Linked DNA regions of Homo sapiens: all the other regions are linked to region 3. Evidence: promoter capture Hi-C in 16 types of primary human blood cells and fetal thymus (Javierre and others, 2016). All regions are on one chromosome and are shown on one strand. Each heading gives the region's core, a stretch centred on a gene start or on the middle of the fragment in contact. The rest is flanking DNA. Distances are from core to core; before and after follow the strand shown.

The links. Contacts are between HindIII fragments. The CHiCAGO score rates a contact against its expected background, and 5 or more counts as called.
Region 1: a contact is called between a fragment that was not itself captured here and the fragment with the promoter of SOCS2-AS1 in region 3, in 3 of 17 cell types (M0 macrophages, M2 macrophages and M1 macrophages). The highest score is 7.1, in M0 macrophages.
Region 2: a contact is called between a fragment that was not itself captured here and the fragment with the promoter of SOCS2-AS1 in region 3, in 15 of 17 cell types (M0 macrophages, megakaryocytes, non-activated CD4 T cells and 12 more). The highest score is 11.1, in M0 macrophages.
Region 4: a fragment that was not itself captured here is called in contact with the fragment with the promoter of SOCS2-AS1 in region 3 in 15 of 17 cell types (fetal thymus, M2 macrophages, non-activated CD4 T cells and 12 more); the score reaches 13.8 in fetal thymus.
Region 5: a contact is called between a fragment that was not itself captured here and the fragment with the promoter of SOCS2-AS1 in region 3, in 5 of 17 cell types (fetal thymus, naive CD4 T cells, non-activated CD4 T cells and 2 more). The highest score is 8.4, in fetal thymus.

What each region holds. Positions count from the first base shown.
Region 1 is chr12:94,528,948-94,534,130 of GRCh38, reverse strand. The region is part of intron 2 of LOC102724960 (a long non-coding RNA gene); the gene reads right to left. Among named protein-coding and RNA genes, the nearest start is that of MIR5700, 30 kb to the left of the region's middle. The HindIII fragment of the contact is 1,575 bases long and covers 2,548-4,122 here.
Region 2 is chr12:94,081,789-94,086,707 of GRCh38, reverse strand. No RefSeq gene overlaps it. Among named protein-coding and RNA genes, the nearest start is that of PLXNC1, 64 kb to the left of the region's middle. The HindIII fragment of the contact is 2,693 bases long and covers 1-2,639 here.
Region 3 is chr12:93,567,909-93,572,835 of GRCh38, reverse strand. SOCS2-AS1 (SOCS2 antisense RNA 1) reads left to right here and starts at 1,438. Exons shown (of 4, transcript NR_038263.1): 1 at 1,438-1,571. It overlaps SOCS2 (suppressor of cytokine signaling 2), which reads right to left and starts at 161. Exons shown (of 2, transcript NM_001270471.2): 1 at 1-161. RefSeq lists silencers at 715-1,024, 1,035-1,084, 1,445-1,724, 2,095-2,284, 2,345-2,394. The HindIII fragment of the contact is 2,692 bases long and covers 285-2,976 here.
Region 4 is chr12:94,119,493-94,125,034 of GRCh38, reverse strand. All of the region lies in intron 1 of LOC124902986 (a long non-coding RNA gene), which reads right to left. Among named protein-coding and RNA genes, the nearest start is that of PLXNC1, 26 kb to the left of the region's middle. The HindIII fragment of the contact is 1,425 bases long and covers 2,822-4,246 here.
Region 5 is chr12:94,453,915-94,459,401 of GRCh38, reverse strand. The region is part of intron 1 of CEP83 (centrosomal protein 83); the gene reads left to right. Among named protein-coding and RNA genes, the nearest start is that of CEP83, 3.2 kb to the left of the region's middle. RefSeq lists a silencer at 3,458-3,607. The HindIII fragment of the contact is 573 bases long and covers 1,930-2,502 here.

The sequences.
Region 1 (5,183 bases), core at 2,086-4,585, 960 kb before region 3:
CTCCTGCCACGCCTCTGAGGCAGGATTCTGACTCAACCTCCTGGGCTAAAACCTAGGAATATTCATCTGAAACAACTCTCCTTCCGATTGGGAGGCAGGGGCTCCTGGAGCCTGGAGGGAAAGGCTGCGCCACACCCGCTGCAGTTGGAGGTGTCTCTTCTCGAGAAAGTGACTAGCAGGGCAAGTCACTATCCCATTTTATAAGATAGGAAACTCAAGGGAATGGTGAATTTCTAGAGAACAGTGAGAACAGTGAATTTCTAGTCCAAGGTTCCACAGCTAGAGCTGAAATTAATTAATTAATTAATTTATTTATTGTACTTACTTATGTATTTATTTTGAGAGGGAGTCTGTCACCCAGGCTGGAGGGCAGTGGCACGATCATGGCTCACCACAACTTCTGCCTCCCAGGCTCAAGTGATCCTCCCACCTCAGCCTCCTGAGTCGCTGGGACTACAGGCAGGCACCACCACGCCCACCTAATTTTGTATTTTTTGTAGAGATGAGGTCTCACTGTGTTGTCCAGGCTGGTCTCAAACTCCTGGGCTCAAGCGATCCTCCTGCCTCAGCCTCCCAAAGTGCTGGGATTATAGTGTGAGCCACTGCATCTGGCCTGGAGCCAGAGTTTAGACCCAAATCCCCTATTTCCACACCCTCTGTTCTTTTTACTACAGCACAGTCACCACCTAAATTCTCCCTCTATTGTGTAAACACAGTATGGTGGGGACTGCCCCCCTCATCTCACAGACAAAGATACCGTGGCACAGAAGGGGTCCAGCCACCTGCCCAAGGCCTGCTGCCTGGCTTCTGGCCGAAGCGCCACTGACCCGGGAAGCCCTGGACAGATCAGGCATCTCCTTCACTTTCTCCCATGGAGATTTTATCCCTACTCATCTGCTGAGAAACACTTTTTAACACAGAATGAGATTGATGTGGTAGACTCATTTCAAATACACGGAGCAGAAACAAACTCGGAGCCTTTTGGTGGATTATCTGTGTGGAGCAGACTGATGGCAATTAGGGGTTTGGGGAGACGGCAGGTGGGGGTGACAGGCTCTTCTATCCCTGTCCCATGAGGAAACCTAACAAAGGAGACCCTCCTCGCCGGTGCGCAAGTGTGTGAGTCAGCGCCAGGGGGCAGAGTTTGTCCAGGAATGAGAATGCACACGCCACTGTGCTTTGGCTTAAGGGTGATGTTAAGAAGGACGAGATTCTGGTGTGCAGGGTCATTGCCTTTAGTACAACCTTAGCCAATAGGTTTCTAATTGGGCCATTTATCTGGAAATAAGTGTGACATAAGAGCCCTGGAGGGTGGGTTGAGAGCAGATGCAAAGTGACTAAAGAGCATGCCACGAATGCATTTTTATAGGGTCAATTGTCTCATAATCTTTGTGTTCTCTTTTGGTGTGAATTAAATTCTGACCACTACTTGGCAATTTGTCAGAAGGCAGTCAGCTTAAGTATTGAGAAACACTGAATAATATTTCAAGAGTTTTCTAGTACATGGCCTCTGCAGCTGGAAAACATTAAAAAAAAGTTCACTTGTTTTTTCTTTTTTTCTTTATTATTCTTATTTATTTATTTATTTATTTATTTATTTTTTTGAGGTGGAGTCTCGCTCTGTCGCCCAGGCTGGAGTGCAGTGGCACGATCTTGACTCACTGCAAGCTTCGCCTCCCGGGTTCACGCCATTCTCCTGCCTCAGCCTCCTGAGTAGCTGGGACTACAGGCGCCTGCCACCACGCCCAGCTAATTTTTTGTATTTTTAGTAGAACCGGGTTTCACCGTGTTAGCCAGGATGGTCTCGATCTCCTGACCTTGTGATCCACCTGCCTCGGCCTCCCAAAGTGCTGGGATTACAGGCGTGAGCCACTGCACCTGGCCTTATTTATTTATTTTTTTGAGAGGGAGTCTCACTCTGTTGCCCAGGCTGGGTGGAGTGCAGTGGCGCAAACTCGGCTCACTGCAACCTCTGCCTCCTGGGTTCAAACGATTCTCCTGCCTCAGCCTCCCCAGTAGCTGGGACTACAGGAGCACACCACCTCACCTTGCTCATTTTTGTATTTTTAGTAGAGACAGGGTTTTATCATGTTGGCCAGGCTTGTCTCCAACTCCTGACCTCAGGTGATCCACCCCCCTTGGCCTCCCAAAGTGCTGAGATTACAGGTGTGAGCCACTGTGCTCAGCCTTATTATTATTATTTTTGAGACAGGGTCTTGCTCTGTTGCCCAGGCAGGAGTGCAGTGGCACGATCATAACTCACTGCAGGCTCCCACCTCAGCCTCCCCAGTAACGAGGACTACAGGTGCACACCACCACACTTGGCTAATTTTTTTTCTTTTTTTTTTTTTTTTTGGTAGAGACAGGGTCTCACTATGTTTCCCAGGCTGGTCTTGAACTCCTTGGATCAAGCAACTTTCTGGCCCCAGCCTCCCAAGCATTGGGATTATAGGTGTGAGCCACTGCACCCAGCCAATTTATTTTCTATTTTATTTTTAATTTTTTGCAAATTAATGTGATTATGCACACACAGTAGCTGTAGAAGCTTCTCCTCACATCTGCCCCCATGCCGTCCCAGCCCCTGAGTGGGACAGTCCCCACAGAGGTGGAGGCAACAGAGCACACTGGGTACGTTGCTTGGGAATTAACCCCAACGACACACAATTCAACCATCTGCGAGGCAGCGACATTTGGACAGATTTGAATTATCAGTAGCCTGAGGATGCTCTCTTTTTTAGAACAATAACTACCATTCATGAGAACTCCTTAGGCACCAGACACTGGGGCTTCCCTTGTAGAATCTCATCTAGGCAATAAAACGATTCTGTAAAGTAGATGCTATTATTATTATCCATATTTTACAGTTGAGGAAACTGAAACTATGAGGGGCTAAGAAAGTTGTTCAAAATTACCCAGCTAGGTGAGCTGGGCATAGTGGCTCACACCTGTAATCCCAGCACTTTGAGAGGCTGAGGCAGGCAGATCACTTGAGGCCAGGAGTTCGAGATCAGCCTAGGCAACATGGTGAAACCCTGTCTCTACTAAAAATACAAAAATTAGCTGGGTATGGTGGTGCATACCTATAATCCCAGCTATTCGGGAGGCTGAGGCAGGAGAATCGCTTGAACCTGCGAGGCAGTGGTTGCAGTGAGCTGAGATCGAGCCACTACACTCCAGCCTGGGCAACAGAGTGAGACTCTCTCTCTCACACAACAACAACAGCAACAACAACATTTACCCAGCTAGGAAGTGGTTCAACCAGGCCTCAGACAGAGCCATCTGACCCCAAAGCCCAGGGACTTAGCTCCTGTTTTCCTAGAAGCCTAAGCAATCCTAGCCCAATGGAAAAAAACCTGCTCATAGATTCTGACACTTTACATTCTAATTTGAACATGGTGCTGATTTGGTGGGTGGCCTTAGAGAGGTGACTTCATATCTCGATTGAATCTTAAGATCTTAGGGTGAGACAAATGCTTCATAACTCAACTGGCCGGAGTACATATAATATGACTTCTATGTTGGGGACATTTGGATCATCAAGAGCCCACACTAGTATGTGGAGTCAGGGGCCATCGACAGCTCTGAGATCTATAGGAAGCTGGCACTGGGGTCAGAAGGAAGTTTCTATAAAATGGAAATGTAATGGGATGATGTGAGGTATGAGTAGAATTATTCTCTCAAGCTCCTGGTTGCTAAAAGGTACAAAGAATGTATCAGTCTGCCCACAGGCTCAGGTTTTGGAGCTGGGGACTTGGCAGAGGATGGTCACGTGTTGGGCAAAGAGAAGTAGGCATTGGAGAGATGTTGCACGAGGCCATCAGCTGGGGTCAGCTGGAAGAGGAAGGCCACATGTCCCAAGGGACCCCTGGGAGCTGCTTGGGCATTTAGTGCCAGGGCAAGTCTTGGGGACCACTTGCTAAGCCATGGAGACCAACAATTCTGCCATAGGCAATCACAAAAGAACATATTCAACTTTCTCTTTTCTTCCTTTTCCCCCAAAGCTACAGGGGAAAGCACAGGCAAGAATCGGGTGGGAGAGAAGTAGACCATGTCTCCACCCCGCCACTCCCAAATCTTTTAAAGCCATGAGTCTAGTCTGCACTAGAGGCGAGGAGGAAAGCTTTGAATCCAATATAAGAATGAAATTTTACATTGAACAGAGTTGAATCTTAATAACTGGAGAGAAACTGTTGTGATAACTAAAATGAAAAGTTGTAGAATCAGACTGGGATATATGTAGCTAATGGAGCCTGCTACCCAGTGGGAAAGAGAGGTTCCACAGAGCATAATTGATTGATTTTATTGGGGTAAAAAAATTACTTCATGTTTATCTTCCCAGAGAATTGACAATCTTTACTAAACCTGTTACTCAAAGGTGAATCAATAAATATATGTTCTGCCACGGGTGAAAGACTACAAGCCTGCCTTTTTACACTGCACAGTTAGTTCCTATGTGTGTGGGATGATCACATGGTTCTTTGGGACTTCAGTCTTGCAGAAGTGTCTTGGGTACCTCAGATAATGGTGGGGAAAGCCAAGAGTTTCTCTTTTCATCAAATTTGTAATTGTAGTTCGTTCTTCTGCTCCCACACAAGTATTGGGTTAGAATATTCATCTTAAGTGCCCTTCCTCTGCTCAGAGACTTCTGCCCCCTGAGACGTCTGGATCAATACCGACTCCCAACCTCTGACACCTCTCCTCACCCCCACTCTCCACCTCTACCTCGACCATGTCTGCCTGCCTGCCTGCCTGCCTTCCTTCCTTCCTTCCTTCCTTCCTTCCTTTTTTTTGAGATGAGGTCTCACTCTGTCACCCAGGCAGGAGTGCAGTGGTGTGATCTCAGCTCACTGCAACCTCTGCCTCCCAGGCTCAAGTGATCCTCCCACCTCAGCCTCCTGAGTAGCTGGGACCACAGGTGCATGCCACCACGCCCAGCCATGTTTTTGTATTTTTGGTGGAGATGGGGTTTCGTAGTGTTGCCCAGGCTAGTCTGGGACTCTTAGCTCAGGTGATCTGCCCGCCTCGGCCTCCCAAACTTCTGGGATTATAGGCGTGAGCCACCTCGCCTGGCCTCCCTCCTGAACTTTCAGCACTCAGCTTGAGCTCTGGGCTTCAGAAGGGCTATACAAACGAACTTAAATTGTAGTCATAATGGTGATAATCTCACCTCAACCCTGAGTTCC
Region 2 (4,919 bases), core at 44-2,543, 510 kb before region 3:
ATATTATATATTGAAATGTGTCAACATCTGGAAGGTCTGCACAACTCATTAAAACAATATTTTCCAAATGACCAGTGCATAATGTTACAAAATTTGAAAAAGTAATTGAGTATGAAACATTCATTGATGTTTTCAGATTTCATATGGCAATTTACCTTTTTTTTTTTTTTTTTTTTTTTTTTGGAGAGGGAGTTTCCCTCTTGTTGCCCAGGCTGGAGTGCAATGGCACAATCTCAGCTCACCACAACATCCGCCTCCTGGTTCCAAGCAATTCTCCTGCCTCAGCCTCCTGAGTAGCTGGGATTACAGCCATGTGCCACCACACCCAGCTAATTTTGTATTTTTAGTAGAGATGGGGTTTCTCCATGTTGGTCAGGCTAGTCTCAAACTCCTGACCTCAGGTAATCTGCCCACCTTGGCCTCCCAAAGTGCTGGGATTACAGGTGTGAGCCACCGTGCCCAGCTGGCAATTTTCCTTTAAGAAACTACAACTTGTCAAGTTTTGGTATAATCTACAGCAGAATCTTCACCATGATCTGAAAAGGCTGTTAATATACTCTTCCCTTTCCAATTACTCATCTGTGTGTAGTGGAACAAAAAACTAGAGAAACAGAACCAATTCTATATATATAGTCATCTCTTGGTATCTGTGTGGGATTGGTTCCAGGATCTCCCTTGGATACCAAAATCTGCAGTTGCTCAAGTCCCTGATATAAAATGGCATAGTATTTGCCATCTTCCCTATGCACATCCTCCTGTATACTTTAAATCATCTTTGGATTACTTATAATACCTAATACAATGTAAATGCTACATAAATAGTTGTTTTATTTAGGGAATAAGGACAGGAAACAAAAGTCTATACATGTTCAGTACAGATGCATTTTTTTCTCAAATATTTTTGATCTGTGGTTGGTTGAATCCATGGATGCAGAATCCATGGACATAGACGGCCAGCTGTATATATATACGTGCATATATGAAGAGATTTAGTATAGGAATTGGCTCATGCAGTTATGGAGGCCAAGGAGTCCCATGATCTGCAAGTTAGAGAACCAGGGAAGTTGGTGGTGTAATTCAGCCCAAAGCTGAAGACCTGAGAATGAAGGGCAATGGTGCCAGTCCCTGATGTGGTTTGGCTGTGTCCCCACCCAAATCTCATGTTGAATTGTAATTCCCAGTGTTGGAGGAAGGGCCTGGTGTGAGGTGATTGAATGATGGAGGCACACTCTCCACTTGCTGTTCTCAAGATAGTGAGTGAATTCTCACGCAATCTGGTTGTTTAAAAGTGTGTAGCACCTCCCGCTTTGCTCTCTTCCTCCTTCTCTGGCCGTGTAAGACGTGCCTGCTTCCCTTTCCCCTTCTGCCATGATTGTAAGTTTTCTGAGGCTTCCCCAGCTATGCTTCCTGTATAGCTTGTGGAACTGTCAGTCAATTAAGCCTCCTTTCTTTATAAATTACCCCGTCTTAGGTCTTTATAGCAAGATGAGAATGGACTAATAAAGTTTCAGTCCAAATCTGAAAGCCCAAGAACCAGAAGGGCCAATGTCTTAGGGCAGAAGATGGATGTCTCAGCCCAATCAGGAGAGTGGATTTACCTTTCCTCCCCAATTTGTTCTGCTGGATCATGCCCACCCACGTTGGGGAGGGCCATCTGCTTTATTCAGTTCACCAATGCAAATGTTAGTCCCTTCTGGAAACACCCTCACAGACACACACAGAATCGTATTTTACCAGTTATCTGGGCATCCGTAAGCCCAGGCAAGTTTGACATATAAAATTAACCATCTCAGCATCTCAGAGGTCATACTGGGTCAGGGTGGACCCTAAACCCAATGACTAACGTCTTTTTTTTTTTTTTGAGACAAAGTCTCACTCTTGTCCCCCAGGCTGGAGTGCAATGGTGCAATCTCAGCTCACTGCAACATCCACCTCCTGGGTTCAAGCAATTCTCCTGCCTCAGCCTCCCAAGTAGCTGGGATTACAGGCGCTTGCTACCATGCCTGGCTAATTTTTGTATTTTTAGTAGAGACAGGGTTTCACCATGTTGGCTAGGCTCGTATCGAACTCCTGACCTCAGGTGATCCACCTGCCTCAACCTCCCATCGTGCTGGGATTACAGGCATGAGCCACTGCACCTGGCCAACTGATGTCTTTATAAGAGACAGAGAGTAGGATACAGAAACGTGGAGCCACAAGGAAGAAGACTATGTGAAGATAAAGGCAGAGATTGGAGTGATGCAACTACAAATTGAGGAATGCCAAAGGTGGCTAGGAGCCAGCAGAAACCAGGGGGAGACAAAGTAGGGTCCTCCCTGAGAGACTTGGAAGGGAGCATGGCCTTGCTGACCCCTTGATTTCAGAATTCTAGCCCTCAGAACTGTGAGAGAATGAATTTCCATCGTTTTAAGTTAACTGGTTTGTAGTACTTGGTTATGGAAGCCCCAGGAAATGAATAGAGGGTTCAACAGATAATCTTCATGGTAATTAAGGTTAGGAAAATAAGTTTCCTGAGAATCTAAAACAAGAGAAAAAAACACTTCCTGCCCTTGAGTCCAAGCCTAAAATGCTTTCACAAAGTAAAATAAGCAGCTATTTTCTATGCCTAATTTGGAAAGAATGAGAAGTTCCAGGAAGCTTTCCAGTGGGAAGCTGGTTCTCGTCCCTGTTAGCTATTGGGCATCTTCACAATCTAGGCCTGTAGTTTTCTCAAATGTTATATAAGGTGGTTGGACCAGATGAGCTATAAGATGCCATTTAGTTCTAAGCCTACATTGCTCTTATTGGCCTATTTATAGTGAGGGGAAAATTTTCTGGATAGAAGAGAAAGGTTTAGTGTTTGAATGGCTTGCAAAATACTATGGATTTTCTTCTTTAGAACTATTTGTGAACAGGATCAATCTGATAGCTGCAGACTGATAAATCAACTATATGCTCTGTAATACTTCTTTAAAACAGGGGTAGTCAAATTCAAATGCCTCTGGGAACCAGACAGTAACTTAAGTGAGTCCAGCAGACTGGCTGTAATAAAACAGGAAGTAGTAGGGACTATGGCAAAGATTATGTGTTGGGCTGTTTTGGCATCGATATAAAGAAATACCTGAGATTGGGTAATTGATAAAGAAAAGAGGTTTAATTGACTTATGGTTCTGCAGACTGTACAGGAAGTATGGTGCTGGCATCTGCACAGCTTCTGGGGTGGCCTCAGGTGGCTTTCAATCATGGCAGAGGGCAAAGTGGGAGCAGACACATCACATAGCAAGAGCAAAAGAGGGAGTGATAGGGAGGTGCCACACACTTGCATAACCAGATCTCACAAGAACTCACTATTGTGAGGACAGCACCAAGCCATGAGGGATGTGCCCCCATGACCCAAACACTCAAACACCTACCACCAGGCCCCACCTCCAACGTGGGCCCCACCTCCAACATGAGATTTGGACGGGACATCTAAACTATATCAGATTACATGTGATAAAATAGGGAGTGGTGGAGACTGTGGCAAACTCGAATGCTCTTATGGCTTTACTTGGAAGTGATCATTGCTCAGCTTTGGTCAGTTCCTGCCAAACAGCAGTGGGGGTGTATTAGCCCATTTTCACACTCCTATAAAGAAATTCCTGAGACTGGTAATTTATAAAAGAAAAACGTTTCATTGACTCACAGTTCCACATGGCAGGGGAGGCCTCAGGAAACTTACAATCATGGCAGAAAGTGAAGGGGAAGCAGGCAGCTTCTTCACATGGCGGCAGGAGGGAGAAGTGCAAGTGCAGGAAAAAACTGCCACTTTAAAAACCATCAGATCTCACGAGAACTCACTCACTACCATGAGAACAGCATGGCGGAAGCCGCCCCCTTCATCCAAGCACCTCCCTCCCTCAACACATGGGGATTCCAGTTTGAGATGAGATTTGGGTAGTGACACAGAGCCAAACCATATCAGTGGGCTTAGGATGCCTAATCCTGAGATTTTTAAAGGGAAGCCAAAATTTTAATGTGAAGTCTCCCAATGTGAAACATCTTAGTAACTGGATTAAATTCTAAAAATAACATCACTGGAGAAACAAAACACTTCTATTGACTCATTGTGGTCCCTCAAGTTACCAGTTTGTAACTTTTGCCTCAAGCCTTTGAATGCGATATTTACAAATACTAATAAACAGCTTAATGAAATGTACAAACATTTTAACGTTCCTTGTTTGCTCATGTATAAAAAACAGTTTTTGAGATGTCCTAAAAACACATGATATTATTCCCATTTTGTGGCTAAGAAACTCAAAGCGAAACAGGTTTCCATTACATAAAGACCTGCAAGCAGAACTTAGATTTAGAGCTTAGATTTCCTGGAATACCCAATATTCCTTCTCTCAAATCCTTTTTGCCATTCATGTTAATGAGAAGGGACAAGGCAAGAGCTATTTGCACTGACACATCCACAGGCACATGGACCTGGGTACTGGACGCAGACCAAAGATGTAAATATTATCTTAAGAGAAATGGTAGGCTGTCTGAGTCTTGTTATGTAGTGGAAAGGAAAATGATTGGGACGTTTGGTGTTGGTTCAAATGATCTTGTAATTATAGGATATGGTTGAAATTATAAGGCCCAAAATATAGAAGTAGAAAAGGCAATGTGAAAGAGTAGTTGGAAAACTACCAGAAAAGCAAAAGGGAAGATATCAGAAAGTGATTCCAGAGGCAGTGTGTATGGTTAGTACTCCTTACCGATGGGGTTAGCTATCCTTCCATCGACATGCTTAGTAACTGCTGTTTAATTGCTATTCTGTCCCAGGCAGTAAGTAAGCAACAAAGAGACAATAGCAAGCAAGTAGACATAGTTCTTTTTCTTCTAGAGTTGCTGTCTAGAGGGAAGACAGACAAGTAAATTAGCTGTAAGTATAGACTTGATGTCCAAGCCCA
Region 3 (4,927 bases), core at 189-2,688:
CGTCCTTCCTTGAAGTCAGTGCGAATCCCAAAACGAGTCCCTGCGGGGTGTCCGAAATGGTGGCAGAGAGAGAAGGGATGGGGCTCTTTCTCCCCAGATCCTGGAGGACGGATGACAAAGTCCCTCGCAGCCGCGGTCACCCACTGATCGCCTACAAAGAGAAAGCGGGAGGTTGGGTCAGTCCAAACTGGACCCCTGCGGCTGGGGTGGGGGTGGGGAAATAGACGTGGAAAATCCCAGGGACTCCTCCGCCTCTACGTTCCTGCACCATTTAACCCCAAGCTTCCAGTTAGCGCCCTGGCCCAGCTCTAGAGAAAAGATAAAGAGAGCAGAGATCCAAGATAAAGTTGGCTGAAGAGGTGGGGGGCGGAGGTCAGGAGGAGGGTGAACAGGGTGTCTTCCCGCCCAGGGTCACTAGCTGAAATCAAAGACTGGCGACCTAGGAAGAGCAAATAGTCACCTGCAGATCCAGTGGGAATAGGCCCTTGTCAAGGACAAGTAGAAAAAATTAAAAAGGAAAGAACAGGAGAGATTCCCCAAATTGGCATTCCGGTCTCACACCTGGCGCAGCCCGAGGGCCCCCAGGAAGAAGCACCCACACAAACTTGGTTCTCCGCCCTAAAGCGCTGCGGGGCCCCGAGGCACCAACCCGGGGTGCGGAGGTGCGGGAGCTGCCGCATCTCCGCCCGGGAGGCTCCTCGCTCCCCTCCCCCCGCTTCCTGGTGCCCGCTCTGGCGGGGTTGGGGGTGCCGCGGCGGTCGCTCCCGGACCAGGATGGCTGCGGTGGTTCTCGCCGCCGCGGGCGCTGTCGAGGAATCGGCCCGAGCGCGCAGCCCTCGCGGGGCTCCGAGGCGAGGCCGGGGCCGAGCGGGCGGTCGCGAGCGCTGCGGAAAATGCAAACCACCAACGCCGCGCTCTTACCTCGACCTCGGCCGCGGCCGCCGCCGCCGCCTCCGCACCAGGCAGCCTCCTCAGCGGACATGGGGCGGGGGGGTGGGGGGAAAAGGGGAGGTGGGAGGGGCCCGGGAGAGGAGGGGCGTCTGCCCTTGTTTCCCCCGTTAACGTTTAATTTGGGAACGAGATGCCCGGGGATGCAACCAGCCCCGCGCTCGGAGGCGGCGGTCGGAGTTCCGTGCGCAGAGGGCACACAAAAGCCTCGAGGATCATTGCCTCGACCCCATCCCCCACCGCGCGGCGACGCCCCCTACGGGCTGGGACACCTCCACTCTCGGACTGCTGCCGGGTTTCCCTCCGGCTGCGACCCTGGAGGTGGGAAGGAGAGAGGGAGGGAGGGAGGAAGGAGCGAGGGCGGGAGGCAGGCCGGTGGGGAGGAGCGGGAGATCAGGTTATTAGGAGGATTATTAATTTGAATGGCAGTTTAGGGGAAATAAAAAAAAGAAACTCCAGACACTTCCAGACGCCGAGAAGGGGCTGGAGAAAGCAGGCAGCAACGCTAGGCCGCGGGGCAGAGCCGCGGTTCGGACTCTCTCTTCCCCGGCGCTCCGAGCTGCGGAAGCCCAGGCCGTCCGCCGCTCCCCGGCGCACGCGGCCGCGCCTCGCCGCCCTCCCCGGTAACTCTCCTCGGGGCGGAGCCTTCGGGCTTCCCCCACTACCGGTACCTGCCGCGGGCGCCCGAGCTGCGGGCACGGGGTATCCTGAGGCTGTGCACCCGGGACCCCGGCGCGCACTGTCCGCGGGCCACGCGGTGAGGGTGGCTGCGGGCGAGAGGGCTCATGCTTCAGGGGAAGCCCAAGGCCCGCCAGCCGCGGCGGCTGCGACGAGACTTGGCAAGAGTTAAACGTCGGTCCCAGGAGCAGCGAGTGCGCGCGACTTCCCAGACCGACGCGCCTCCCTTGCTCCCCGCCTCCCTCCCCAGTCAGCGCTCCGCTCGCGCCCCGCCCGGCTGCTGCGGAGGCGGCTTTCCAGGAACTTTCCAGGAATCGGCCTCACGTGACCGCGGGCCCCGCTACTGCTTTAAAGAGGCTCGGTCGCAATACACAGGCTTCAGGGAAGACCGGGTGAGAGCGCTCGGGTGCAGGGCGGGCGGTGTGCACGCCGGGGTCGGCCTGCCTCTGGCCCCACACCCCGGGGTGCTCGGGCGCAAGCTAGAGATCTCCCCGGCCACCGGCTACAGCCAACCCCGTTTCGGCGGCCGGAGCCTGCCCCCTACCCGGGCCAGCTGAGCGCCCGGGTTCAGGGAAGGATAGCGATCCTTGGCCCTTGGCCTGCCACGGGGGTGGGTTCCTCTAAACATCCCGGCGGCGCCCCCTCGATGCGACCCTCCTGGCCGCACTTTTGCGGGGGGTGGGCGTGCAGGAGCGACTGTGGGTCCTCGGAAACCAGACTCTCCGGCTCTAAGACACATCGATGGCGTGGGGACGCCGTGCTCGTCCCGGTGCCCACGGCCGGGGACCGGAGGCGGTCCCCTTGATCAGGTCCTGGAAGGCAGCGAGCGGGAGAGCAGCGCCTCCTTAAGCGGCGCCGGCCGTCCTTAGTCCCCTCCCCCTGGCGCTCCGGCTCCTTGTCACCCGCACCCACCCGGCTCCTCCCTTCCTCCTCCCCTCTGCTCCAACGTCTCCGGTAGACCCGGCGGCCCGCCCGGGTCACCTGCGCCGGCTGCTAAGGGGGCGCCCTTACCTGCGCGCCCGGAAGGGGCTTGGTGACTGGCCTCGGTTCCCTCAGTCCGGAGAGTGTCTCTGCCATTCCCTGCAGGGCTGACGCCCCAGGGCTGGGATTCGGAAGGATCTCGGCACCTCTACCCTACCTGGGATTCTCACCTCCAACCCCGTTGGAGGCCCCCTGGCCTTAGTGGAAACTCATCTCCTTGTCTGCGCACCCGCCCCCGAAATATGACCTACTTGAAATGTGACCTACTTTTTAAAAGAAACCCTTAACAATCACGGGAAAACCGGATCCAAAATTTCGATAAGCATTTTTCTTTGAAATACTATTCTATTGCATCACTGCTCGAAAGCTTGAAAGGTCAATGGCCACTTTTAGTTGAGGCCGCGGCTATGGGAAGTTGGGCGAGGAAGGGGGAGGGGTGGGAGGGAGGCGCGTCTTGCAAACTTTGCCTGGTGCCCCCCCTGCCGGCTCTGGGAGGAAACGGGAACCAGCTCCCAACCTTGGGGTCTGCAGCCGGGGACCAATGGTTTTCTCAATAATTTTCCTGCTTTTGAGTACATAATTCTATGCAGATGATAAGCAGATGAGTCGGGGAGGGGGGCATTTCCCAGCTAACAAAGAGCTTTGTTAACGCTGGAGCCGTGTGCCCTTAATCATGTTTCGTTTTTTAGAAAGAGCCTTTTATAGTGTGGGCGGAGCTAACTGAACCCTAGTTAAAATCCTCTACAAAGTAGTTGAATAATTTTGCACAAGGCACTTACCCTCTTTGGACCTCTGGCCCTTTTTATAACATGAAGGGCTAGATTCGGGTTCTGGGTGAGGGACTGGGATAAAGGAACAAATCAGATTCCATGTGAAGCCTGTGTACAGTCTGAGGCCCCAAGCCTTTTAAGAACCACTATGTCTACTAGGGTTAACTGCCCTCTAAATTGTCCTAATATGGCTTCTTATTCCTTGATGGAGAATCCTAGAGGAAGGGTGTACCCACACTTTAGCTTAAATAAAAAGGTATTTATTCCTAAAACTGACGGAGGGCGGGGAGGGAGCATGACCAAGTCTCCCTCTGTCGCCCAGGCTGGAGTGCAGGGCGTGATCTCAGCTCACTGCAACCTCCGCCTCCCAGGTTCAAGCAATTCTCCTGCCTCAGCCTCCCGAGAAGCTGGGATTACAGGCGCCCACCACCACGCCCGGCTAGTTTTTGTATTTTTAGTAGAGACGGGGTTTCGCCCTGTTGGTCAGGCTGGTCTCGAACTCCTGGGTTCAACCGATCCTCCTGCCTCGGCCTCTCAAAGTGCCGGGTTTACAGGCGTGAGCCACCCCTCCTGGCCCTAACATTTTTATACAGTAAGTTTAATATTTACTTGATAGTGGGTTGAAATGAATCTTCCAGCAACTCCTTTTTTATGTGCTTTCCTGTTGCCTTGGTGCATGCTGTTCCCTCTTCCTAGAATGCTCCAACCCTGATGGCTGCATCATACTTGATTAAAAGAATCCTGGCCGGGCGCGGTGGCTCACGCCTGTAATCCCAGCACTTTGGGAGGTTGAGGCGGGTGGATCACTTGAGGTCAGGAGTTCAAGACCAGCCTGGCCAACATGGTGAAACACCGTCTTTACTAAAAATACAAAAATTAGCCGGGTGTGGTGGTGCATGCCTGTAATCCCAGCTACTAGGGAGACTGAGGCAGGAGAATCGCTTGAACCCGGGAGGTGGAGGTTGCAGTGAGCCGAGACGGTGCCACTGCACTCCAGCCTGTTTACCTCTCTGACCTCATTTCCTCCTGCTCTGTTCTTTGATCACTCTGTTCAAGTTACACTGGACTCCTTGCTAATTCTAGAACTCATTAGCCTTGCCCCTGCTTCAGGGTCTTTGTATTTGCTGTCTCCTCTACCTCTCATGCTCTCCTTTTAGATAGCTGCAAGGTTTACTCCCTCACTTCCTCAAATCTTTATTTAATGCCGCTTTCTTAGTGAGACCTTGCCTGTTGGCTCACTCAGAATTGACCTTCCCCCTGCACATTTCTCTTTCCTCCCTGCTCTAGTTTTTTCCTTAATCATGTTCACCATCTAACCTAGTTTATGTCTTATTTCTCCAGCTTACTTTCTCCCCAACTCTGCTTCATGTATTTGTACTTGCATTGTTCACAGCTGTAGTTCAGCACCTTGAACATAGTTCTTAGCATGTAGTAGGCATCCAATATAATCATTGAATGAATGGATGGATGAATGAATGGATGGATGAATGAATGAATGCATTAGCACCATGGCTTTAAAGTTAAGCTGTCCAGGTATGAATCCTCACTCT
Region 4 (5,542 bases), core at 2,285-4,784, 550 kb before region 3:
TGAGTTAATGCACATAACACACTTCCAGTAGCACCTGGCACATGAGAAGTGTTAGTTATGCCAGGTGTGGTGCTGAGTGCTTCTCGTACTTTACTAGTGGAAATAACAAAGAAGCCAGGATGAAGCGAAACCTTAGGAGCTGGGAAAAAGGAGAAGGGTCGAAACTTATGTTCTAGAGTTTTCATGTCTTAGTCTTTGTATGATTGTTGCTGCTGCCTGGCGCAACCTTCCGCAGGCTGGCTCCCTCTCATCCTGCAGGTCTCAGCTTAAAAGCCCAGCTCAGACATGCTTTCCCTCACTCACAGTCGAAAGTTGCGTCCCCTATATTATTCCCTCTTTCCACACAGTGTTTCTCTTTAGAACACTTAACACTGTGTGTAATTGCATAGGAATAGTTTATCTAGCTAGTGAATTCTCCAACACTAGCCTGTTCACTCCACGAAGGCTAGTTGTGTTTACTGATTATCCTCGATTCCTAGCAAATTGCCTGGCACATACCAAATGCTTAATGAATGAAATGAAACTGTACCTGTTGTAAAAAATGAATGAATAAAAGTATACCTGTTGTAAACAAATGGAATAAATGAATGTATCAGGGTTCCCATTATACCCAAGGTCACTTCCAGGCAGCATGGCATCCTCTTGCTCTACAAGATACTTCTCTTTTGAAAACACATCAGCACTTAGAAAAGTGACCCTACTCCAAACTTTGTAATTTAACACTGGATCCTCTGATAGCTTCTTCCAGGATCCTAAAGTTTGTGTGTCCCATCTCCAGAGAATGTTCAGCCACTCCTACATCACTATATACTTCCTGATTTTCATCAGGCTTACAGAGACAGGGGTGAGAAAGTAGGGTAAAGTTACTCTGATAGTAGCTGAGATATGAAAGTGGAGGAAGGGAAACTATAGAATTTGAGAATTCACTGCCCTTTTACTAAGAAACACTTCTTTTTTTTTTTGAAACTTCTAGGGTGGCAGGAAGTGCATGCCCAAACCTCAGAGTCTGGGGCAATCAACAGTACCCTAACCTCCCTGAACAGGTTCAGACACCCAGGGCTGGGTATAGGAATAGCCCAGATGTTTTTAAAGTTAAGACCTGAAGTGGAGAAAAGGAAAAAATGAAGAAAGAGCTCCAGCTCCACAGGGGATGTCCTGGGATTAGTAGGGACAACACAAACAGAGCTCAGGGAAGGAAGACAGAGAGAAAGGGGAGGGGAAGTTTTTTGTTTTCAAAGTGTAATGTAGAAAAAAAAATAGCTCTGGCTGGGCGTGGTGGCTCATGCCTGTAATCCCAGCACTTTGGGAGGCCGAGGCGGGTGGATCACTTGAGGTCAGAAGTTCGAGACCAGCCTGGCCAACATGGTGAAATCACATCTCTACTAAAAATATAAAAATTAGCCAGGTGTGGAGGTAGGTGTCTGTAATCCCAGCTACTCCTGAGGCTGAGGCATGAGAATCGCTTGAACCCGGGAGGTGGAGGATGCAGTGAGCCGAGATCGCGCCACTGCACTCCAGCCTGGGCGACAGAGTGAGACTCCACCTCCAAAAAAAAAAAAAAAACTCAAAAAAAACAAAAAACAAAAAACAAAAAACAAAAAAACCCCACAAAACTCCTCACCTTAAACTGACCAAGAAGAAGCCAGACTACTACTTCCACTTTTATGTTGTGGCTGGCAGACCACAAGGAGCCTGCTCTGGAGAGGGCGGAGAGGGAAAGCCCAGCTGCTGCTCACTCAGCCCCTTTTTGACAGAAGACTTGTCCCCAGATCAGGGATGACCAGGGAAGAGATCAGTGGACAGGGTAAATCCACAGCCATTTGATGTAGGGACATTTTAATTTGGGAAATCAAATGCAGGAAAGATATTACCTTACTGTTCATTTCAAGCATCTCACACACACCATTAAATGCCCCAAACCAGGCTACTATTGAACCTTAACCACATACAAATGACATATTTACCCAAATACCCCAACATGCTAACAATCCTTTCTGGGTTGCATGTAGCCCAAACTGCCCCTGTGTGTGAATTACAAAAGGCACACTCCCACCCCTTCTTCAAGACACTTGGCTTACTTCTGTTGGAAAATTGTTGTCATGGGCTGATTTATTAGAATAAGACACATGACTATCATCTGCCAGAAAACTATCATAATAAATATACAAACTAACTGTGTTTACTATCAATGATGGTCCTTTAGATGTGGTGCCCTTGTGCAGAAGTCAGTTTGAAATAGAGAAGTTTGAAATAGTTGTATCAAGGCCATCAAAAGCTTAACTTCCTTGTCCCAGTATCCTTATTAATGCTTTGCAAAATCATGATCCTTAATGCATTTCTCGTCTTGCTATGGTCAACTTGTGATACACTGAATGAATAAAATAGAGCGAACAGAAATGAAGGATCTGTTTGTCAGATCGGTTAAACCAGGAAGTTTCAAAAGAAAGGATTGTTAGCATGTTAGAGTATTTGGGTAAATACGTAATTTGTATGTGGTTAAGGTTCAATAGTAGCCTAGTTTGGGGCATTTAATGGTGTGTGTGAGATGCTTGAAATGAACAGTAAGGTAATATCTTTCCTGCATTTGATTTCCCAAATTAAAACGTCCCTACATCGAATGGCTGTGGATTTACCCTGAGCATCAGCTCTGAGGTTGGGAATAGACGACCTGTGTACTTCTGCCTCCTGATCATGCCTGGGGCGTTCTAATCTCATGGTCTAAAGGTCTCAAAACAGGTAAAACAGAAATGAATGTTCTCAAATTCGTGGGGGTATCTCACCAGTTATTTTGGAAATAAATATAGCTGCATGCAGACAAGCTTCCATTTGTCCAGAAGTACCTAACTAAGTGGAAGCTGCCCACACTATTACACTGGAGTTAAAGTATTCTGAGCTCCACCCACTCTCTACCCATTTTTAGCATAGTGTGATGGAGGCAAGCAGACCACGAGAACCCAGTGGAAATGTCACCAAGTGACCAGATCGCAGGCCTGTTTGCAGGTGGTGTCTGACTGCTGGTCACCAGATCCCTCCCACCATAAATACAAAAGTTCCTTGTCAAAATTCTTTCACACAAGTTCTTATGCTTTAAACTCACAAAAGTAGGACAGGGCTCCTATCTCTCCATTTTACAGAATGGGAAACAGGCTCAGAGAGGCCAGTGTGTAGGAAAGTCAGGAACCAGAATATGGGTCTCTTGATTCTTTGGTCCAACATTCCATGAGTCTCAGTTTTTAGCACTGAGATCATGTGGGGGAACTTTGAAAAATGTGGATGCCCAGGCTCAATCCCAGCTCCTCAAGAGATAGAACCTGGAATGTGTATTTTTCTTTCTTTCTTTTTTTTTTTGAGATGGAGTCTCACTCTTGTCGCCCAGGCTGGAGTGCAGTGGCGTGATCTTGATTCATTGCAACCTCCACTTCCCAGGTTCAAGCAATTCTCCTACCTTAGCCTCCCAAGTAGCTGAGATTACAGGTGCCCACCACCACAACTGGCTAGTTTTTGTATTTTTAGTAGAGACGGGGTTTCACCATGTTGGCCAGGCTGGTCTGTAACTCCTAACCTCAAGTGATCACCTGCCTGGGCCTCCCAAAGTGCTGGGATTACAGGCGTGAGCCACCGCACCCAGCCTGGAATGTGTATTTTCTTTAAAGTGCCATGAGGGCTAGGCGTGGTGGCTCATGCCTATGAGACCAGCACTTTGGGAGGCTGAGGCAGGAGGATCACTTGAGCCCAGGAGTTCGACACCAGCCTGGGCAAGATGATGAAACCCTGTCTCCACCAAGGAAAAAAAAAAAAAAAAAAAGGGTGGGCATGGTGGTCCACGCCTGTAGTCCCAGCTACTCAAGAGGCTGAGGTGGGAGGACTGCTTGAACCCAGGAGGTGGAAGTTGCAGTGAACCACTGCACTCCAGGCTGGGCGACAGAGTGAGACCCTGTCTCAAAATTAATTAATTTAATTACATTAAAATAAAGTGCCATGAATTCAGATATACAGCCAAAATTTGGACCCCTTAGTCTGACACGTGCTTAATTGGAGGATCCAGAAAAATAATAAATAAATAAATAAATAAATCGGAGGATCCAGAAAAATAATAAATAATTGGAGGATCCAGAAAAATAATAAAATAAAAAAATCAGAGGATCCAGAAAAATAATAAAATTAAAAAAATCTGACATGCTTAATCAGAGGATCCAGAAAAATGATATGAAAACAAATTTAACTGAAGCATAAGGAAAAAAAAGCTTGGCTTGTTCAGTTTAGAACATCCATTAGAGTAATACCATGGTGTTGTATATTGTATTAAATAAGAAGACACCTCTGAATTGTGCAAAGAGCAGAGATCCTATGAGAAGGAAATTCGTTGATAAGATCCCTACAAATACAGTTAGAATGCAAGAACGATCAGGATGGCCCATTAGAGCTCTGGAAGACAGATACTGCTTAAATTCCCTAACACATTCCAGCTTCCACAATGCTAGGAAATAATATGCTGTGCACTGTGTACAAAATGACTCCCTGCAGGCCTGAAAGAAAAGAGCCTTGTTGGAGACATGGCCAGTCTATTGGGGGTGATTATGGTCTGCTCTCTTCTTCTGTCATGTTTCTTCTCTAATCAGGGCTGACTCAAATATTCCAAGAGAAGTTAGGAGTCAGAACACCTGGTGCTGGTCCCAGCTCTATCATTATCTGCAATGTGATTCTCTTAGCTAAGCTGACTTTGGTTTTCTAATTTTTAAAATGAGAAGCCTAATTGTTGTTCCGGTCACTTTACATGCAGGATGCATTGTGATGATGTATCCATACACATATACAAGCAGAGTATAGCACATTATTATGATTACTTTGAATAGCACCATTGGATGTATTAGTTCCAAATGGGGCATGTGCATTCTATGACTCCCATGTGCCATTAAAGACCCTATTTTCTGGTAGCCTGACACTTTATCCATCTCTAATGGGGAAACATTTGGGAAGCATTGGTTTCCTTCTTTTGAACCACCCAAGCCAGAATATTCCAGAGAGTTGAAGAAAGGAGAGGGATCTAAGGTCAAAACAAGATATTGGAGGCCAGATGTGGTGGTTCATGCCTGTAATCTTAGCACTTTGGGAGGTCGGAGGTGGGCAGCTCACTTGAGCCTAGGAGTTTGAGACCAGCCTGGGCAACATAGTGAGATCCCCACAAATCATAAAAAAATTAGCCGGGCATGATGGTGCATGCCTGTGGTCCCAGCTACTTGGGAGGCTGGGCTGGGAGGATCACTTGAACCTGGGAGGTCGAGGCTGCAATAAGCTGTGATCATACCACTGCATTCCAGCCTGGGTGCCATAGTGAGACCCTGTCTCAAAAAGAAAAAAAAAAAAACACCGTAAAGAGTGTAATTGGATTGTTTGTAACTCAAAGAATAAATGATTGAGGGGATGGATACCCCCTTCTGCATGATGTGCTTATTTCCCATTGCATGCCTGTATCAAAACATCTTATGTACCCCACAAATATATACACCTACTATGTACCCACAACAATTAAAATTGTAAAATT
Region 5 (5,487 bases), core at 967-3,466, 890 kb before region 3:
TCTTCATGGAGCTTTTGGATGCACTCTGGCTTGGTGGTTGTGTAGCCAGTTTGGTAATTGGCCAGACGTTTAAGTACCTCCAGCTTAATTTACGATGAAAAAGCTATGCTACCATTTTCCTTGGCTTTGAAGACAATTTGAATGAACAGTGATGTCGACTGTCATTACTGAGATAAACACCTAAAATATGTTAGCATATGCTGGGTTTAAATACTTTGGTTAATCCTCAGTGTCCAACTTTTGACCATAATCAATGGGCATTTTGCTCTTAAGAATATCCACTGCTAAGTATTTGTAAAGCCTTTAGTTAGCTGAAATGAGGAAGCTCTTTCAAATCTTACAGATCTCTAGGATAAGGAAAGACTTGTCTGAATTTCGTGTATATGATATATACTTCATAATCTGTTCAGACTTTAAGCAGCTCTAAAACAGAGTGGGTTGTTAAAGCAGTGCTTCTGTTACCAAGCAACATGTCTGTAAACAAGTCTGACATTTAACTAAAACACAATTAAAGGTATCTATCCTACAGTTACCTGGATTTAGAATTTTCCATATTTATGAATTTAGCCTGTAAGTGGTTAGAATTAATACTCACCTTTTGTATTGAGGTTTGATTTCAAACTCAGTTTGTTCAGAATTGTTAGAATGCTTTATTTATTTATTTATGACTGAGTCTCACTCTGTCGCCCAGGCTGGAGTGCAGTAGCGCGATCTCGGCTCACTGCAACCTCCGCCTCCTGGGTTCAAGCGATTCTCCTGCCTCAGCCTCCCGAGTAGCTGGGATTACAGGTGCGTGCCACCATGCCCGGCTAATTTTTTTATTTTAGTAGAGATGGGGTTTCACCATGTTGGCCAGGCTGGTCTCAAACTCCCGACCTCAGGTGATCCGCCCACCTCGGCCTCCCAAAGTGCTGGGATTACAGGTGTGAGCCACCGCACCAGGCCAGAATGCTTTAAATTATAAGTGTCACACAGGACTCTCCTGAGAGTTGCAAATGGTTTTGAGTTGTCCTTTGGTTATTTAGGACAGAGTATGCTGGGTATTCCCCTTACTTTGAGTGTTTTCTTTCCAGATCAGATGAAGTGCGCGGACTGTATTTAGAACATTCTCAAATAATAGTGAAATACAATTTAGAATTCCATGCAGCACTGGGAGAATGAAACACTGATTATTCACAGGTAGTTTTTTTTTTTTTCTTTTTTTGAGACAGAGTTTCATTCTTGTCGCTCAGGCTGGAGTGCAGTGGTGGGATCTCAGCTCACTGCAACTTCCGCCTCCCAGTTTCAAGTGATTCTCTCCTCTCAGCCTCCCGAGTAGCTGGGGTTACAGGTGCATGCCACCATGCCCTGCTAATTTTTGTATTTTTAGTAGAGATGGGGTTTCACCATATTGCCCAGGCTGGTCACGAACTCCTGACTTCAGGCGATCTGCCCACCTTGACCTCCCAAAGTGCTGGGATTACAGGTGTGAGCCAGCGTGCCTGGCCTATTCACAGGTAGTTTTTAATCCTTGGTTTACCAGTCACCTCACTGTCTCCTCTTATTGAACCCTTAATGATAAAATTTTTATGGCAAGTTGTTAGTTTTTAGAGCACTTTTTGAATGATCTTTTCAATCAATAACCTTTCAAGTAAGCAAGTATGTGAGAAAATTTGAGACATGATGAGACTAAATGACTTCTTTGAAATCTATTAATAATGGGAATTGGAACTTGAAGTTTAATGTTCTTTATGTCAGATACCCTTATGTATTGCTAAAATCCATGGACTTAATTTTAGTTCTCTCCTCCTTTTTTCTATATGCTGATGTTGAAGTAATGAAATATTCAAAAGTTGGGCAAGATGGAGGAGACAAATCAAGAATGACTCGTATAATCCTTAGTAATCAGAAATCAGCATTATGTCATGGGATGTTCTAATTCAAGAAGCTTAGAGTGAAATCTTAACAGAAAGATTAGTGAATTTTAGTGAATTGTCAGAATTTCCCCACCCCCAGGTACTGTCTCTTTGCCTAAAAGTAGATGAGCTTGCTTTTAATTTTGTCATACATATTAGGTTCCATAAGTAAATTGCCCACATTGTTTAACCTATGTGCTTTTAGGGAATGTGTGTAAATCTGTGTAAAAAACTTCCTTTTAACCCAAGTTCATGTTTCTTGACTTAAGGTGAATTATTTGAAATCCTCTCACCTTGCCTTTTCAAGTGTATGTTCTTTATGGAAAAGGTGTCTCTGCCCAGATTGGTTTCTTCACTATCCCCTAAACCTGCTCTGTACTTTATCCTTTCCATATTAGTCTGCATATCTTTCTATCCCCCGTGACCTGATCTTATTCCCTTCTTTCTTAAAATCTAAATTGTACCTTTTCTATAAGGTTCAACTCCACCATGACCTCATACATACATACATAGGAATAGTATGTATTTGTGAGTTAAATTTATTTGATACTTATACTTTTTATTGTATTATTTTAGCTTTCTTGACTTCCTAACTAGATTGTAAGCTTATTAAGGGCAGGACTTCAGATCTCGATGAGCTGTATCCTTAGTCTTTTCCAAATACAAGTTGCTGAATAAATGTTTCTTAAAGATGACTGATATGATTAGGCTTTGTGTCCCCACCCAAATCTCACCTTGAATTATAATCCCCATAATCCCCATGTGTCAGGGAAGAGACCAGGTGGAGGGAATTGGATCATGGCGGCGGTTTCCCCCATACTGTTCCTCGTGACAGTGAGTTCTCATGAGATCTGGTGGTTTTATAAGTGTTTGGTAGTTCCTCCTGCATTCATTCTCCTTCCTGCTACCTTGTGAAGAAGGTGCCTTGCTTCCCCTTCACCTTCTGCCATGATTGTAAGTTTTCTGACGCCTCTCCAGCCATGTGGAACTGTGAATCAATTAAACCTCTTTCCTTTATAAATTACCCAATCTCAGGCAGTTCTTTATAGCAATATGAAAATGGACTAATACAATGACAGATAGGCATTTCTACTTTCCCCCACTTTTGTAAGTATCATGAAAGTAAGGTTGTTGAGAGAAGAGAGTAAGTGAAGGGGAAATGGCAACAGTAAACTATAAAAAAGATTGAAGAGTGGGAATTCACGGAATCAGAAATAAAGATTCTGTTCCTAGAAAGTGAGTATTTGAGAATTTCCCATGGCAATACCAGCAGTAAGGACTCTCAGGAATGCTGGCACTATTCTTCAGTGGGCTTGGGGAGTTTGGTCAATTTCCTGGTTCCTAGTAGAATATCAGTTTATTAATTATATTTTTTTCATCAGGACTGCCCTCTCTAGGTCATGGAGAGATCACTGACTGTCAAGTCTAGTACTATTTCTTTTTTCTTTTTTTTTTTTTTGAGATGGAGTTTTGCTCTGTCGCCCAGGCTGGAGCGTAGTGGTGCAATCTTTGTTCACTGCAACCTTGAACTCGTGGGTTCACGTGATTCTCCTGCCTCAGCCTCCCAAGTGGCTGGGGCTAACAGGTGCATGCCACCACACCTGGCTTTTTTTTTGTATTTTGAATAGAGACAGGGTTTCACCACATTGGCCAGGCTGGTCTCGGAACTCCTGGCCTCAAGTGATTCACCCACCTTGGCCTCCCAAAGTGCTGGGATTGTAGGTGTGAGCCAATGCGCCCGGCCTACTATTTCTTTTAACTGAGCTATAATCCAGGATGGAAGAAATTAAGGAAATGCCCAGTTATTTGCCTTCTGTATATTGTGACTTCAGATTGCTTTTGGATTAAAATTCAGAGTTAGTAGGAACCTAAACCTGGCCATTCCCTTTTGGAAAGCACCTATCTTCTGTCTCAAAATATGTCTATAAAATGTCCATGTAGTTTTTACAGTCTCACCAAAAATCCTGTATCTAATGCTTATAACAAAGAGTTACTTCAGTTGAAGATATAGAAAGTGAAGTTGAGTCTCAGAATGCTTTCATAAATATTCGTTTGATTCAGTTACTTCTTGAGTGAATTTGCCATTCTAGCTTCTGAGTTGTTGCCCAGTAACACAATTGCAGTATAATATAGCAACCCTTGAAAACAGTAGCATTGGACTATAGGGATTTTCCTGATGAAGTTGCATTGCCTATCTCTGATGTTCATATTCAGCCTCTCTCAAGTGTGATTGCATTTTGTTTTAAGGCAGCTATTTCAGATATTGTTAAACTTAAGGGGCATGCAATATATGCTCTTAAGGATATTTTTTAGAGTACTGATGAATTATAACTTCTTTCACATTGTTTTCCACATAGAGATGCATGATAATGTGTCCGGAATTGGTTCATTCTGGTGGGTTCTTGGTCTCGCTGACTTCAAGAATGAAGCTGCGGACCCTCGTGGTGAATGTTGCAGTTCTTAAAGATGGTGTGTCCGGAGTTTGTTCCTTCAGATGTTCAGATGTGTCCGGAGTTTCTTCCTTCTGGTGGGTTCATGGTCTTGCTGACTTCAGGAGTGAGGCTGCAGACTTTTGCAGTGAGTGCTACAGCTCTTAAAGGTGGCGCGTCCGGAGTTGTTCATTCCTCCCGGTGGGTTCGTGGTATTGCTGGCTTCAGGAGTGAAGCTGCAGACTTTCGCAGTGAGTGTTACAGCTCTTAAAGGTGGCGCGTCCGGCATTGTTCATTCCTCCCGGTGGGTTCGTGGTCTCGCTGGCTTCAGGAGTGAAGCTGCGGACCTTCGTGGTGAGTGTTACAGCTCATAAAGGCAGTGTGGACCCAAAGAGTGAGCAGCAGCAAGATTTATTGCGAAGAGCAAAAGAACAGAGCTTCCACGGCATGGAAGGGGACCCGTGTGGGTTGCTGCTGCTGGCTCAGGTGCCTAGCTCTTCTTCCCTTATTTGGCCCCACCCACATCCTGCTAATTGGTCCATTTTACAGAGAGCTGATTGGTCCATTTTACAGAGTGCTGATTGGTCCGTTTTTACAGAGTGCTGATTGGTGCGTTTACAAACCTTTAGTTAGACACAGAGCGCTGATTGGTGCATTTGCAATCCTTTAGCTAGACAGAAAAGTTCTCCAAGTCCACACCGGACCCAGAATCCCAGCTGGCTTCATGTCTCAATAAGTATGTATTGAATTATTTTTTGTGTGAAGGACACGTGAAAATACTGGTTCAATTAAAGATTATTCTGGGCAGAAAAAGTATTATGTAATAACAGACTTCTCTACAACTGATATAGCCAGCCAGAGCTGGAGTGGATGAAGTTGAAATGGTTCTTTATAACATTTTTGTATTACTTCTAGAGCTTCATAGAAAGCTGAGATCACTAAGCACAATTTAATAGGTACTCTAATTTTTTTTTTTTTTTTTGAGACATAGTCTTACTCTGTCAGCAGGCTAGAGTGCAGTGGTGTGATCTCAGCTCACTGCAACCTCTGCCTCCTGGGTTCAAGCGATTCTCCTGCCTTAGCCTCCCAAGTAGCTGGGACTACAGGCACATGCAACCATGCCCAGCTAATTTTTTGATTTTTAAGAGAGACGGAATTTCACT